Regions from separate parts of the Homo sapiens genome. Here regions 2 and 3 are each linked to region 1. Evidence: promoter capture Hi-C in human tissues and cell types (Jung and others, 2019). All regions are on one chromosome and are shown on one strand. The core of a region is centred on a gene start or on the middle of the fragment in contact, and the rest is flanking DNA. Distances in the headings are between cores, read along the strand shown.

What was found. Contacts are between HindIII fragments. The study calls those that stand out against the background at their distance.
Region 2: a contact is called between a fragment that was not itself captured here and the fragment with the promoter of TRIM35 in region 1, in 2 of the 25 tissues and cell types used here (dorsolateral prefrontal cortex and lymphoblastoid cells).
Region 3: a contact is called between a fragment that was not itself captured here and the fragment with the promoter of TRIM35 in region 1, in 1 of the 25 tissues and cell types used here (lymphoblastoid cells).

What each region holds. Positions count from the first base shown.
Region 1 is chr8:27,308,971-27,314,094 of GRCh38, forward strand. It overlaps TRIM35 (tripartite motif containing 35), which reads right to left and starts at 2,302. Exons shown (of 6, transcript NM_171982.5): 1 at 1,831-2,302. The coding sequence starts at 2,265. It also overlaps a transcript of PTK2B not described here. RefSeq lists enhancers at 1,271-1,380, 1,781-2,000, 2,011-2,160 and a silencer at 2,311-2,520. The HindIII fragment of the contact is 16,679 bases long and covers 1-5,124 here.
Region 2 is chr8:26,670,380-26,675,503 of GRCh38, forward strand. No RefSeq gene overlaps it. Among named protein-coding and RNA genes, the nearest start is that of DPYSL2, 160 kb to the left of the region's middle. The HindIII fragment of the contact is 4,501 bases long and covers 871-5,124 here.
Region 3 is chr8:26,697,581-26,702,704 of GRCh38, forward strand. No RefSeq gene overlaps it. Among named protein-coding and RNA genes, the nearest start is that of ADRA1A, 170 kb to the right of the region's middle. The HindIII fragment of the contact is 4,697 bases long and covers 299-4,995 here.

The DNA.
Region 1 (5,124 bases), core at 1,052-3,551:
TGCCTCTATCTGAAATACCCTCTTTCACCTGGCTAACACCTCCTCTTCCCTCGGGTCTCTGCTGGAAGCTCCTTGAGGCTGGAAATGGTCTATCTTGTCTCCTGCAGTATCCCTGGGACCTTGCAGTACCAGGCATCTGCTGGTGCATGGCTCTCTGCTCTTGAATCCTGGCTTGGCCCCAGCCTGGGGGCTCTGCCTGGGTGTTCTCAGCCCTGACCCCAGCATCTCCTGATCAGCACCTCGGCCAGCCAAATAGGCATCAGTCATGACCTGAACCATGATCCCTCCTTTACCTGGGCCCCAGACCCCTGGCTGGCCAGCACTTATTCCAGCTGTCCCAAATCAGGATCTGTCACTTCTGCCAGTGGAAACAGGAAAAGCATTGACATGGACCCATGTTAAACAAAAAAGATGACAGGAGTAACAGGGTTACTCATTGAGACATGCGTACTGACAGCATCCTTACATTCCCCTTCAATTAAACTTTGTCAAATGCATTTGGAGCGGAACAGACTTCCGTATTTAAAAAGGTATTGCAAAAAAAGAAGGCAGGGCCACAGAGGGGGCCAGAAACCAGGCACAGGGGACTCGGGCAGCTCCTCCTCTCCAGTCCATGCAGCTTCGGGCCAGCTACCCAGTGTTCTCCCAATTGGGGCTCTGACTCATGCATTAGCAGGTGATGAAATAAATTCAATGTTTCACATTCTGGGTAATTTTTAAAAGTAACAGAGGCCAGGCGGAGTGGCTCACGCCTGTAATCCCAGTAGTTTGGGAGGCAGAGGAGGGCAGATCACTTGAGGCCAGGAGTTCCAGACCAGCCTGGCCAACATGGTGAAACCCTGCCTCTACTAGAAATTAAAAAAAAAAAAAAATTAGCCAGGCGTGTTGGTACATGCCTGTAATCTCAGCTACTCGGGAGGCTGAGGCACCAGAATCGCTTGAACCCAGGAGGCGGAGGTTGCAGTGAGCTAAGAGCACGCCACTGCACTCTAACCTGGGCGATAGAGGTCTCAAAAAAAAAAAAAAACAAAGGGAAGTAACAGAAAATATCAGAGTGCCATGGACATGTTCAGAAAACTTTTGTTTCAACTGATACATATGTTCTGGGTCACAAGGGAAAATGCATTGCTTCCTATGGGCTAAGATTAAACGTTTTGGAAAATGCTGAGTTAGGCTAACCCTTATCTTCTATTCATTTTTCCTTCCTATATCAAAGAATTCTCCATGTTAGTTTTGCCCTGTAAGTTGCTCCTGGGTTTATGTATAGTCACTAGAACTCTAGATATGGAGATGCTGCTTTATAAACCAGAATAGGCCAGCCAGCCAGGGTCAGAGACCTCTCACTCAGATAATACAAACCGCGGGATCAGCTTGGCAAGTAGGTGACTGGTTTGGGGGAAATCTTAAGACTCCACACCCCTGGCCAGGTCTGTGGCTCCTCCTCCACTTCTAAATTGAGTGTGCCAAGCTACAGGGCTCGTGGGCTGCACCCACATCCGTGCCGCTTAAAGGGACCTGGGCCACACCCGGCTGGCACAAGGGGTGCATGGCCTGGGCCCTTCAGAAGCAAGTGTCGCTGTCTTGGGAACATCATGTAACCTCATCTGTCACTTTCCGTTCGCATTCTCTTCTCCCAGCACGGGCCCCTGGGCCGACCTTGAAGAAGCAGCCAGCCCTGAGAACCTGGGTCGGAGAGGTGGGGTCCTGCATGCTGGGAGCGAGACGCGGGCACACTGGGCTCTGGCAGGCAGGAGGGGCGGGAGCCGCAGAGCCAAGGGATTCCGGGTTCCAGACCCGGCTCGGCCGCCTCGTGCAAATCGCTGCTCTTACCCGAAAGTCGTGGGCAGTGTCCTTCACCGGCTGCACGCGGTGCCCCTGGTGTCGGGGGTCGGCCTGGCAGGAGCAGCACAGCAGCTCCTTGTCCTCGAGGCAGAAGAGGCTGAGCTGTCCGCGGTGCAGGCGGCAGACACGCGAGAAGCGGTAGCTGGTCCAGCGCGCGCCCTCGGCCTCCTCGCGCAGCAGCTTCTCCACCAGGTTGTTGAGGGTGTGGTTGGTGCGCAGGTCGGCGGGTGACGCGCGGTCTTTGCACACTGGGCAGGTGGGCGACACCTGCACCTCCCAGCAGCGGCTCACGCACCCGCGGCAGAAGTTGTGGCCGCAGCGCAGAGTGACTGCGTCGCGGAAGGGGTCGTAGCAGACGGCGCAGAGCAACTCCTCCTTGAAGGAGCGGGAAGGCCCGGGGGACACGTCGGGACTCCGCTCCATGGCACGAGCAGCCGGCTCGGGCGCCCGGAACTTTTGCTCCGGCCCCTCCCACCCGCCCGGCTGCCAACGCCCGCGACCCGAGTGCTGGGAATCGCCCAGTCCCTTCCCCTGGAACGCTGAGAGACAGCGGCGCTGGCCAATCGTGCGGGGGGGATGGCGAGGGGGAGGGAGGGGGCGCTCGGAGGAGCCCCACCCACTTCCGGTGTGCGCGGGAAATCTTGGGAGAGCGGGGTGGGCCTTCTGCCCGCAGTTCCCGCCTCCTCAGGTCCGGGCGGGTCCCTGGCCGGGGTAGCACGGAAGGGTCTCCCAGGCGGCGTAGTAGGGCTTCCGTGTTACTGGAAACCTACTTCCGGCTGCAAATGGGAAAAGGAGCCTCTACCTTAACCAATCCCCGGGAACCTCAGGCCCGCGGATGGGAGAAACCAGAGATGCCAACTTCCTGCTTCCGAAGTAGTGGCTGGGTCTTAAAGCACCGTGAGTGCAATCACCACTTAAGTTTGCAGCGCCTTTTTGAGGACCTATGCCACTCTTGCATTAGTCGTTTACTTATTTTGGCCAGTCTTCTTCTGGCCCGCCGCGGTAAGGAGAAACAAGAGAGGGGTGGCGGCAGAAGAGCTCCGAGAAAACCTGATTCTTGTCCTGTGGTTGAAAAAGTGAACAGGTCATCATGTTTCAAAGTCCATTTACTCATGAGTACAATGGCTGTAATAGCTCTGTTTCCATGAAGTGTGAGGATAAAGTGAAATAAATGTGGAAAGTGCTCATGACAACCACTGTTTTAATGGGCAAGTGCCCATTAAAACAGTGAAATTGAGGACTTCTGCAAAGTTTAGCTGAGATAACTAGAGTTCATGCTCAATTCTTGCCAGGTACAGTAGGCCTGGATGGTTCCTTCAGATCTTCATTCCTGCTTCAGTTTGATCACTTTACAGCCTCCAGATGCAGAATACTTTTCACACGATGCACTTTCATTCCTTTTCTATTGGGAGACAATTCACATGTGTCATGTTCCTGCATGTCTTGAGAGAGCAGAGGCACTGACTGCCTTTTTCCAACTATCTTTTCAAGGATGTTTCTGCATTGAATAGCCCTGGAAGACAGAATTCTTGTCTCTCCAAAGATCTGGCAGACTTATTCCCAATTATAAGAGATGTGAGTTTCCTAAACTTGGGGCCCCTCTCCTGTAATGCAACCTACTGTAGCCTTCATCACATAGTCTTGCAAGAATTAGGGCTCAGAAACTGGCCCAATGACAATACTGTGACTACTATTATTGCTGTTAGTATTATCCTTTGTCTCTGACCCAGGAGTTTCATCTTTTAGCAGTATTCATGAAATTTTGGCATGCAAACTTGTTAGTGTTGAAACTCAGAAAACAATACCCCAAAATGGCCTCAAAAGCAGAAATTTTTCTCTGCCCTCCTATCTCTCAGTCCCCCAAGGATAGCCATAGAAATTAGAATTCCTTTTCCCCAAGGCAGGTCATAGAAACCAGAACCCCTTTTTCCTAAAGCCAGTCTTGAAACCTTAAAATATTACTCTTTCTCTCTGCCTTTCTGTGGAATAACTGGCCATAAAGAAATTATCTGACCTACCTTGTTTGACTGTAGGCCATAAGAGCCCGATTCCAGAGAGGGTCCTACCCCATACCTGTTAGGGGTAGAAGGTGTCTGAGTTAACAGCAGTGAATCTGTATGGGTCTGCAGCAACCTCAATTCTTGCCTCCTTGGAAGAAAGAATTAGACTGAGGGGCATGATATGGTTTGGCTGTGTCCCCACCCCAAATCTCATCTTGAATTGTAATCCCCATAATTCCCACGTGTCAAGGGAGAGACCAGGTGGAGGTAATTGAATCACAGGGGTGGTTTTCCCCCCATGCTGTTCTCCTGATAGTGAGTGAGTTCTCACGAGATCTGATGGTTTTATAAGTGTTTGGTAATTCCTCCTGTGTTCATTCTCCTTCCTGCAGCCTTGCAAAGGAGGTGTCTTGCTTCACCTTCACCTTCCACTGTGATTGTAAGTTTTCTGAGGCCTCGCCAGCCATGCGGAACTGTGAGTCAATTAAACCTCTTTCCTTTATAAATTACCCAGTCAGTCTAAGGCAGTTCTTTATAGCAATGTGAAAATGGACTAATACAGGGCATAAGGCAGAAAAAGCAACTGAGGCAAGTTTCAGAGCAAGAGTGGAAGTTTATTAAAAAGTTTGGGACAGAAAAGAAAGTACACTTGGAAGAGACCCAAGCGGGCAACTTGAGGGACAAGTGTGGCATTTAACCCTGATCCTGGGACTTCATATGCTGGCCCACTTCTGGAGTCTTGCTGCCCTCTCCCTTCATTCTTCCCTCAGTGTGAGCTGCCCGAATGCACAGTGCCCTCCCTATGCTTGGGAGGTGAGCATGCACCATGTGCTTAGGAATTTGTACACATGCCCATCTGAGGCTTTCTTCCCTTTTCCAGTGGAATGCCCCCGGAAGGTCATACTCCACTATTTTGTCTCTTAATGTGCATGCCCAAGCTCACTCACCCAATTTCTGAAATTTTATTGGAAGCTGATTACCAATCTCAAGTGTTTTTATCTGTTTGGGAAATTGCCTATGCCTGGCACCTGCTTTAATATCAATTAACATCAAGTAACACTTTAGTGACAGCTGTGGACCATCAGGGAATTGTCTCTCTCCCTCTCTCTGGCCCATCTGCCAAATTATCCATTTTAGAAAGGCAGTGTGATAACTGTGAAACCATCACCTGGCATTCTTGCTTGAGGGGATTGGGGAGGGTAGAGTCCTCTCCTGCCCTGCTCATGCCTGTCTAACTACCTGTAACATACCTGGAAGGAAGAAATGCATGTTCGTAGAGGCC
Region 2 (5,124 bases), core at 1,871-4,370, 640 kb before region 1:
TCTTTCTCTCCCTCATTCCTTGTTCTCCATCTTCCCCTCCACGCCCCACCCTGCCATGAGGGTTCCAGCCATTCCCAAATGAGTATTCTGTCCTTCAGGTCCTTATTTAGAAAAACAGTCATTGGCCTGGTTGCCTTTCAATATTTAATTCTACTTTCATAAGTGGAAATAAAGCCTGCTCTTGCCCCTTTCCTCCTAGATGACAGTAGTTAGGATAATATGGTGACCTAATTAATGGTAGTCTTGGTTGACAAAGTATTTGTCAGGTAATTTGGAATGACAGCTGTGGAAAGCTTACCTCTGGCGGCTTAGCTTAGTTTGTCCAGTAGGTGGCAGTAGTGTACAAGCTGTGCGAGAGCAAGTTCTCAAGAAGACAAAATGCAACTTCCGTTCCTAAGCAAGAAAAGGACAGAATGCAGTATCTGTTCCTAAGCAAGCACCCAGCCAGCTGTATCTGGATGTGGACCTGCATTCGGTCCATGAGGAGACCAACAGGTGACTCTGAGTTTAGAAAGCTACGTATTAAACATAATGGTGTGTAGATTTAGCAAGAGACACTAAAAAAGTTGATTATTAGGGGCCAAAATCTCAGATCCCCTTATTAAGTAAATTGGTTTTCCTGATAGAGGCGCCCTGTGTTCAGATAGCGTTTGTGTGGCAGAGCTGACTGCAAGGAGACAAAGGCTTGCTGGGGCTTTCATAGGATGGTACTGTGCTGGAGTGGGCTATGTACACTACGATCACGCCGAGGCTGCAGGGAGCGAGCTTGCAGGTGTCTGGTGGTATAAGTCGGGCGCAGGAAGATTGTGAGTTATTTACACAGGAGGGCTGTGTGTCCTGGACCATGAAGAAAGGCAGACTTGTAGCTTGTTTGCTTCTTTTTGCTTTCCCCTGCTCCCACCAGCCTGACTTTTTCCCTAATGAGGACTTCACAGTTTGCAGCGTTGTCAAATTAGCTAACCAGATGCAATAGGAGTCAGGCTTTCATTCCCTCTTGCAGCCTGTTTCGGTGCTTCATGTTAAAATCCTGTAGTTACTCTCTCTCTCTTTCTTTCTCTCCCTTTCTCTCTCTCTCTGTCAACAGAGGCACTGTAAATTACCAGTGACTGGTCAAATTTGTGACCATTCTTTATCTCCTTCCCTCCTGTCCCTGAATTTGGCTCTCGTACCCAAGCCTGGCTTTCGTATCACACTGGATGTATGGGGAATGAGGCTCAGCACTGTCACTGCATTTGTGTTATTTCATCTGATCAGTGTTGTGATGAACTATAAACCACAAGGACTCAAGGGATCCCCCTGCCTCAGCCTCCTGAGTAGCTGGGATTACAGGTATTATGATACCCGAAATAGGTAATATATTAGCTGCCTATATACTATTCATGCTGATTCATTTATCTGTACTAATTAAGACTTAGCACCTTAGGTGAATGGAACATAGACCAAACAAGCTTTTTAAAATAACGATTTAAAACAAAAGAAAAGTAATGTATGTTAAATGTAAGAACATATTTAAAAAGTAAAGTATCAGCATAATATTGGCTTCCTATAATGATTTGGGATGTGTTCTTTCTTTTTTAATTTAATGCAAGAATGTATTCAATGTATTATTTCCTCCTTAACTGCTTGACTGGTTGAATTGACCATTGAAACCATTTGGACCTAGAGTTCTCTCTGTGGGAATGTTTTTAAACTACAAATTCAATTTCTTTAATAGGCATAGGGCTATTTAGTTTATCTGTTTCTTCTTGAGTAAGCTTTGGTAGTTTGTGTCTTCCATGGAATTTGTCCATTTCGTCTGAGTTGTTGAATTTATTGGCATAGAATTGTTAATCATATTTCCTTATTATCTTCTTAATATTAATAGAATTTTCAGTGATGTCATCCTCTCTTTCCCAATGTTAGTAATTTGCATCATCTCCCTTTTTCTCCTTATCACAATGGTTAGTTTATCAATTTCATTGATCTGAAAAAACTAGCTAATAGTTTAGTTGATTTTCTCTATTGTTTTACTGTTTTGCATTTAATTGATACTTCACTCTGATTTTCATAATTTCTTTTCTTCTATTTAGGACGAATTTAATTTGCTCTCCTTTTTCTAGTTTTCTGAAGTGGAATCTGATGTATTTTTTCTTTTCCAATGAAGGCATTTAGTGCTATAAGTTTCACTGAAGTTACCGTATTCATTTTCTTTTTACCCATGAGTTATTGAGGAATATGCTATTAAGCTTCGAAGTATTTGGGAATGATCCAGAGATTTTTCTGTTACTGACTTCTAACTTAAAGTCATTGTAGTTAGAGAACTTACATGGTGTGAACTTAAATAACCTTAAATTTATGGAGACATATTTTATGAGCCTAAATATGATCCATCTTGAAAAATGTTCCAAATGCACTTGAGAAAAATGAGTATTCTGCTGAGAGGGAATGGAGGGTTCTATAAATGTCGGTAGGCCAAGTTGGTTGATGGAGTTCTTGAAATATCCTAATGTCCACAGTGATTATTCATCTACTTGTTATATCAAGCCATACCAGCCTATTAGCTGAGAATGACTGGATCTGAAATTTTAGGACAGTGTCAAAGTGGAGCCAGCAGCATCATTATTTGGTTTTCCACATTGTTGGGAGACCATCCCTGTAACATATTCCAAAGCAAATTTCTATAAAATGCCAGTCTGGGGAGATGCTCTGTGGAAACAATGTGATATAGGTCAAATGGGTATGAAGCACTTGGGGAGTTAGAATACATATATGAAATCTTGTTTAATTTGGTTAATTATTTCTCAAATTTATTTTATCATAGCATCATTTTTTTACGTGACACTTATAAAATCCTTCAGAACTAAAATTATTTGGGATACATTTAGAGAAATATGTAGATATGGCTAGTATCTAGTAGGTACTAGATACATTTCTAGCTTTTGTGGTCACATAGATACTTTTTATTTGTAAAAGTATTATTACATTCCTATTTTAGTAAGTCCTTTTTTTAAAGAGCAGGTACCACATTTTAACAAATCTTAATGGGATGAACTTGTGGTTTTCATTTGCCACTACTGAAGTGACAAATGATATTAATTCATGGATATTATTTTCTAATGAAGCTGATATCAATTTGTGTAGAGTTGTATTTAGAATGTTAGATCAATATCTATAGTTGAGACAGGTCAAAGGGTTTTTGAATGTGTATGTTAGTTTTGTCAGGCTTTGACACTTAAGGCTAGGGTGGCTTCTTAAATTAATTAGGATTGTTTCCATGTTTGTGGGCTGCAGAATAGTTTATATAACATAAAAATTATCTGTTTGAAAGCTTAAAAAGACTTGCCCATAAAACTGTCTGAGCCCAGAACCATAATTAGATTATAAATACGTGTAATTAAGGGAATGTTTGGTTTGTTTTATGTGTAAAGAGTGGAGGAGAGTTAAATACTTGACATGTGGGAGAGGCTTCCTTAAAGTAATAGAGCCCCTTGACACCAATTACAAGGAAACATGTGCTTCCTCTGTGTTCCCTCCCTCCCTTCCTCCCTCCCCTCCTCCTCCCTCCCCTCCTCCTCCTCCTCTTCCTCCTCTTCCTCCTCCTCCTCCTTCTTCTTCTTCTCTCTCCCTCTCTCCCTCCCTCTCTCTCTCTCTCTTTCTTTCTTTCGTCTCACTCTGTCATCCAGGCTGGAGGGCACTGGCACGATCTTGGCTCACTGCAACCTCTGCCTCCTGGGTTCAAGTGATTCTCCTGCCTCAGCCTCCCAAGTAGCTGGGATTACAGGTGTCCCCCAAACATGCCTGGCTAATTTTTTGTATTTTTAGTAGAGAAGGGGTTTCACTACATTGGCCAGGCTGGTCTCGAACTCCTGACTTCAGGTGATCCACCCGCCTCGGCCTCCCAAAGTGCTGGGATTACAGGTGTAAGCCACTGCGCCCGGCCTGACTTAGGGTTTTCTTTCACCAGGGAGATAAACACAGGATTGATCAGGTATAGCTTTATGTAATTGATCTAAGCAATACTTTGACCAAGACAGAAGCCCCTGGCTACATCTTTACCAGCAACAGAAGAAATTAAACCCTTCTTAGTCAGGACTAGAGAACTTGACACTGTCACAACGTGAGTAAAACTGAGAGAGGCTGATGGGAGCAGAGCATCCCATCTATGCAGGAGAATCCCTGTCCCGGAGCAAGCAGGAGGCTGATGGGAACAGAGTATCCCATCTATGCAAGAGAATCCCTGCCTTGAGACAAGCAGGACCAGCATGCACCAAGGTGCATGAAATTCCTGCGATAAACATCCAGTTATCCATGTTAAGACGAGCACCTTGTCATCACCCAGCCAAGATGTTCTTCTTTACGGGCAAGTCAATTCCTGTTGCCTGTTTCTTTTCTTCCTTTCTTTTTTTTTTTGAGACAGAGCTTCACTCCTGTTGCCCTGGCTGGAATGCAATGGCGTGATCTCTGCTCACCACAACCTCTGCCTCCTGGGTTCAAGTGATTCTTATGCCTCAGCCTCCTGAGTAGGGATTACAGGCATGTGCCACCAAGCCCGGCTAATTTTATATTTTTAGCTGAGACAGGGTTTCTCCATGTTGGTCAGGCTGGTCTCGAACTCCAGACCTCAGGTGATCTGCCCGCCTCGGCCTCCCAAAGTGCTGGGATTACAGGCAAGAGCCACTGCGCCCGGCCTCCTGTTGCCTGTTTCTTAGGGTCCCCTTTGTGTATTTGAAAATTAAAACATGAACCTGGGGCCTTTAGAGTGAGAATATCTCCTGGCTTCAGGGTTGTGACTTAACCTCTTAGTAGCCATCTCTATTTTATTTTATTTTTAAGCATGTCATCACTTTTAGGTGTGCAGTTCAATGGCATAAAGTATATTCACACTCTTGTACAACCATCACCACCACCCATTTCCAGAACTTTTTTCATCTTGTGAAACTGAAACTCTGTCCTCATTAAGCACCAGCTCCCCCTTCCCCCTGGCCCCCATTCCTGGCAATCACCACTCCACTTTGTCTGTATGATTTTGACTACTCTAGCTATCTCATATTAGTGGACTCATGCAGCATTGTCCTTCTGTGATTGGCTTATTTAATTTAGCATAATATCTTCCAGGTTCATCCATGTTATAGTATGTGTCAGAAT
Region 3 (5,124 bases), core at 1,397-3,896, 610 kb before region 1:
ATAGGCTACCACTAAGTTATAATCTCCCAGCCAAGCAGACCATTAGAACTAATCTCAATTACAGTAGCTAACATGTTCAATCCCACATGTCCAGCGGTTTGACCCCTATGTACTGATAGGGGTCTTAGTACTACTTAGGGCTACTTAGTACTTAGTACTTAGTACACTTAGCCCTGTCTCATGCTGTGTCCTCTCCCCCTTGGTCCACCATCCCTACAGTTTACTCCTACACACGTTGCAAAGTTTAGAGGAGCACAATTTGCATTCTATTCCTTGGCCAAGAGAAAAAGGCCGGGGAGTCTTAGTTGGAGTCCACGAGGCTGCTGGCTGACGACTAATCGAGTAGCATGGTAATCCTTTGTTTTACTGCCTTATATATGTTTTGCGTTTATAAGTCCAATTTACAGAAATGCCTCACAGGGTGAATGAAAGTGAATTTCTTGGAGGTCCCATGAGGACTGAGTGAGCCACCTCCTGCACCTGTGCTCTCTGCCTGGCCGGCGAGAACAACATCTAGAGGCTTCTTTGAAGGCTCACCTTAGTTAGGGCTGTTGGACAAACAAAATATGTCAATGTCTTCATTTGAGAGGCCACAGAACTTTGAAAACAATTTTTTAAGGAGACTTGAATGGAGTAGCTGGTGTGTACTTTGCAAAGCTTTGGAGAAGCTTTGAAGCTGGCCCTAAACAGTGCAGGCCAACACATTGAAGGCTTCTTTGAATGCTGGGTGTCCAGGGCTGTTAATGCCTTACTTGCACCTGCTATGAGGCTCAAAATAAAAACAACAACAACAAAATGAAAACAAAAAGTAGATCTCTTGATTAAAGGAAAATGGAAAGCCATTGGTGTCAACATGTTGATTTCAGTCCTCATATCTGACAGTAATATTTGTATACTTCTGTCTATACTTGTTAAATCTCTAATAAATACATTTTCTTGCTAAAAACTTATACATAGCAAATTCTTACCAGTTTATTAGTTAAAATTGGACTTCCTGTAGGCAAAGGTAAGAATTCTTTGCAATGTCAAGGAGAACCGAGACACTTCACCCCTCAAAATGTGCTATTGCATTAATGCGGTCAGGTTGGAAGCATTTGAGAAGCCTATTGCAAACCTCAGCTTGTTTATAAGAATTTTACAGAACTCTAGTTCATACAAGCTCATACAAGTCATACAAGCTCTATTGCTTAATTCACTTCCTAGACAGTGAAAGTGAAGTTTGTAACCATCTGTCAGAAAGTGATACAGTTAGGAAAATGTAGTTATATGTCAGCTAACTCCATTTCACTCAACAAACCGTATGATTAACACAGGTGTGTTCACAGGAAACACAGTGAGTGTTGGTCTTTGCTTAATGGAGTCTCAAGAAGACATTTTCAATGCTACAGGAGGCCTTTTCTTTCCCCTGCTAGAAAATTCATAGTCTTGTGACATTTTTTGGCAGTATGTGAAAATACAAGGAATTGATGGTGTGGATTCCTTGACACTTTAGGGAGGACTGCAAAGGGTTCAGAGCTTTGCTTCTAGTTTTTGATGGCATGAGATCCCATTTAGAAGCTCCTCTGAATGCTCACTGTAGCCAGCTTTTAAGTACAATGAGTTTGTTTGCTAACTATTATTATTTTGATATTAAAAAAATCAAACGGCTACTATTGGATTGCTTGCTTCTGTGGATCGCTAGGACTTTCAAGTAGAACTTAAATTCCAGTTCTAGAAATCCAGATAAATATTTAGAAGCTTCTGTGCATATTTGTGGAAGTCAGGGATGCGTTCAAGTTGGAGTGCACCAACAAACTCCTCCATTTCTTCAGCCAAAAGCCCCTGCCTTCCTCATAGAAAGTACACCTCCATGGGACACCTGAAATGGATTCCTTTCAACTTGAAGCTCTGTGAAATCAACGTTTGGAAGTGTCTGTGCTTGGTGACTATGCTTATGGCTGAAGTGCAACAAAATATTATAGTAATTTTTGTCTGCTTTACTGACACTTACACCTCTGACAGCACTTAGTTTGTGAGAACTGGAGTTGGGGGCTCATTAATAAATATTAACTGTTGGAGGAGAGTTCAGAGTTTCTCTCTACGCTCTCTCAGCTTGGTAAGGGCTGATTAGATTTAATGATACAGACTGGGCCACATTTGCTCTCGGGTGGCTTTCCTCTATGTTCATAGAGTCTCTCTGGGGTGAATCCTATGACCTGTCTGTGAGAACCAGTTGAAAGCACAAGAGATTCCGGTACTAAACATTGATAACAGTGTCAGCAACCTTCCTCTGTCAATGCTGTAAGGCCAGGGTTGAAATTTAGCCAAGTTTTATGCTTGTTGATTCCTGCCCCTCACTACTTACTCCAATTTCACTTCTTAAAAATGTGGTCACTATCCAATATTCTTTTTTTTTTTTTTTTTTTTGAGATGAATCTCGCCCTGTCCTCCAGGCTGGAGTGCGATGGTGCGATCTTGGCTCACTGCAACCTCCACCTCCTGGGTTCAAATGATTCTCCTGACTCAGCCTTCCCAGTATCTGAGATTACAGGCACCCGCCACCATGCCCAGCTATTTTTTTTATTTTTTATTTTTTATTTTTAGTAGAGACGAGGTTTCACCATGTTGGCCGGGCTGGTCTCGAGCTCCTGACCCCATGATCTGCTCGCCTCAGCCTCCCGAGTTGCTTGTGAATTGCCTTTGTTCCTGGTTTAGGTGGCATGAGGCATTGAAGCTGTGCTTTCACTTCCTAAGATTAGAACTAGGACACTGGAGACTGTGTCTTTTGATTCTTCTTTCTGAGAATTCTTTCAAATAGCTTCAGGTCCACTTCCTGTAAGCAAATTAACGTTTTGACTGTGAGATTTGCACTGGCCTTAACGAAGTATTCATGATTCAATTGAAAGCAATTTAGCGATTGCTGTAGTGAGTACTGACAGAAATCTTCAAAATGTCTAGCCCTAAACTACAAGAGTTTGTTTGGAATGGTTATCTATAGCATGTCAACGAATCACAACAGCTACTTGTTTCAAGTTCTATTTTTGAAAGCAAAGTACAGCAGCCTTGAAAGTCCTGAACTGGAGGAAGAAAAAGGAATCAGAAGAGTCAATAGAATGACATTTCCTGGCTTTTCTAAAAAAATAATAGGCCTCAAAAAAAATTAGCCGGGTGTGGTGGTGGGCACCTGTAGTCCCAGCTACTTGGGAGGCTGAGGCAGGAGAATGGCGTGAACCCGGAAGGCGGAGCTTGCAGTGAGCCAAGATCACGCCACTCACTGCACTCCGGCCTGGGCGACAGAGCAAGACTCAGTCTCCAAAAAAAAAAAAAAAAGAAAGAAAGAAAAAGAAGAAATATCCATCCATCATTTTCAATACCTAGGATATGAATTTAATCACATGGGGTGGCTTAGTTCTCCCCAAAACTTGAAGGAATCCTCACCAGCATCTCCTACATGTGTATTTCCTGTGAATAAAATGGTAGCAGCACTTAAGCAGGGAAATGAAGCTTTGATCATGCATCGGCTTCAGTACCAGTGACAGCAAGAAACAACACAGGTACACCCCAATATTTCTCTTGTTGTCTGCTATTGGTTTCTGAATAACAGCATTTAGTTTTTTTTCTCAATCTTGAAAGCCTGAGCAGCAGCTCTGCAATGTGAATCTAGCTCTTAAAGTTTTTGTAAGAAGCAAAAAGTGACTATAGCTGATGAAATGTATTTAAGTGTGTAGCAAACTCAAATGCCCTCTAGGTGGAGTATTCACAGACACTGGCAGAAATCTCTAATGGGGCTGACTTTATTTATAAGCAGGCAGTGCATATTGAAACTGATATCTTGGCTCTCTGTGCATCTTTAGGGGAGCAACACCAGCTGTTCTTTGGAAATTTGCAAACAAACTTGCAGTTGTTCTCAGTAGTTCATAGCAGGTGAAATAAAGGAGATATCACCAATCGGATTTGGGGGAGTTATGTGCTTTGGTTCTGTTGAGCTTGTTGGCAACCCAGTCTCCTGAAATCTTGCAACTAGTACATTTGGAACATACTATACTATTGCAGCAATAGTCTCTCTTTTTGATGTTGTAGGCTTTCTTTAGTTGTCTGGTAAACTCTGATTGCTTGTTCATATTTAAATATGAGGCAATAGAAAGACTGACCTGGATCTTGGTGGGAGAGGACGTGGCCTGCTAACTGGGTGAGAGGGCAGGGGGACAGTCATCACATAAGTGCCCTCAAACTTTGTCATTGTCCTTACAAGGCTGTAGGCAAGGTAACTTGTGTCCCCTAGTTGATGTTTTTCTTTTTTTTCTTTTGCCTTTCCCTGTCATGTATGTGTGAGAGGAGACTGTAGACATCTAGTTTCTCTGCTGCTTTGTGGTGGGGTGGTGAACTTGGGCATACACAGACCTTCCATTAACGCCCTGTCTCCTGGCCTACCTTTTCTGCTTTCCCTGCACTCTGAGCCCAGTCTGCTGGGTAGGTCTGTGGCTTCCAAGGTTGGGTTCAAAGCCACGCATGCTCAGCTTTCCTTCACTGGCCACACCCCTCCATTTGTATCCTGTCCTTCAGAGGTGTATTGAGGTGCCTTATTTACTGGTGAACTTCTCCCGTTCTCTCCCTAATGCTTTAAAAATTGGCTGTAAGCCTATTAGTAGCAGGATGGTGAGTTTCTAAGTAAGTAAAATGAAGGATTTATCATTCTGCCACATTTTGGGTGATGGCTCAGTTACTTCAAGGAATCCATGCCAGCTATTAATAGCAAACATAGTTCATTAAAATCAAAGTACAGTCAGGGCATGGTGGCTCAAACCTGTAATTCTAGCACTTTGGGAACCTAAGGTGCTTGGGAGGCTGAGGCAGGAGGATTGCTTGAGGTCAGGAGTTCAAGACCAGTCTGGGCAACATAGTGAGACCCTGTATCTAAAAAAAAAAAAAAAAATAGCATAACCTCACCATGGTATAGGTGAAATGGAAAGGTTAGCATATAGAAGTAGCCTTCCTACTTTTGTTTTTATTATCTTCCTGTAAATTCATTTTTTCCTACTCAATTGTGCAATATAACAACCTTATTTGAAACAGTTCCAGCTGGGATTCTGATGCTTAATAGGTGCTATGCTTTTTTTTTCCCCCAGCAGATAGCCACTAACAGAA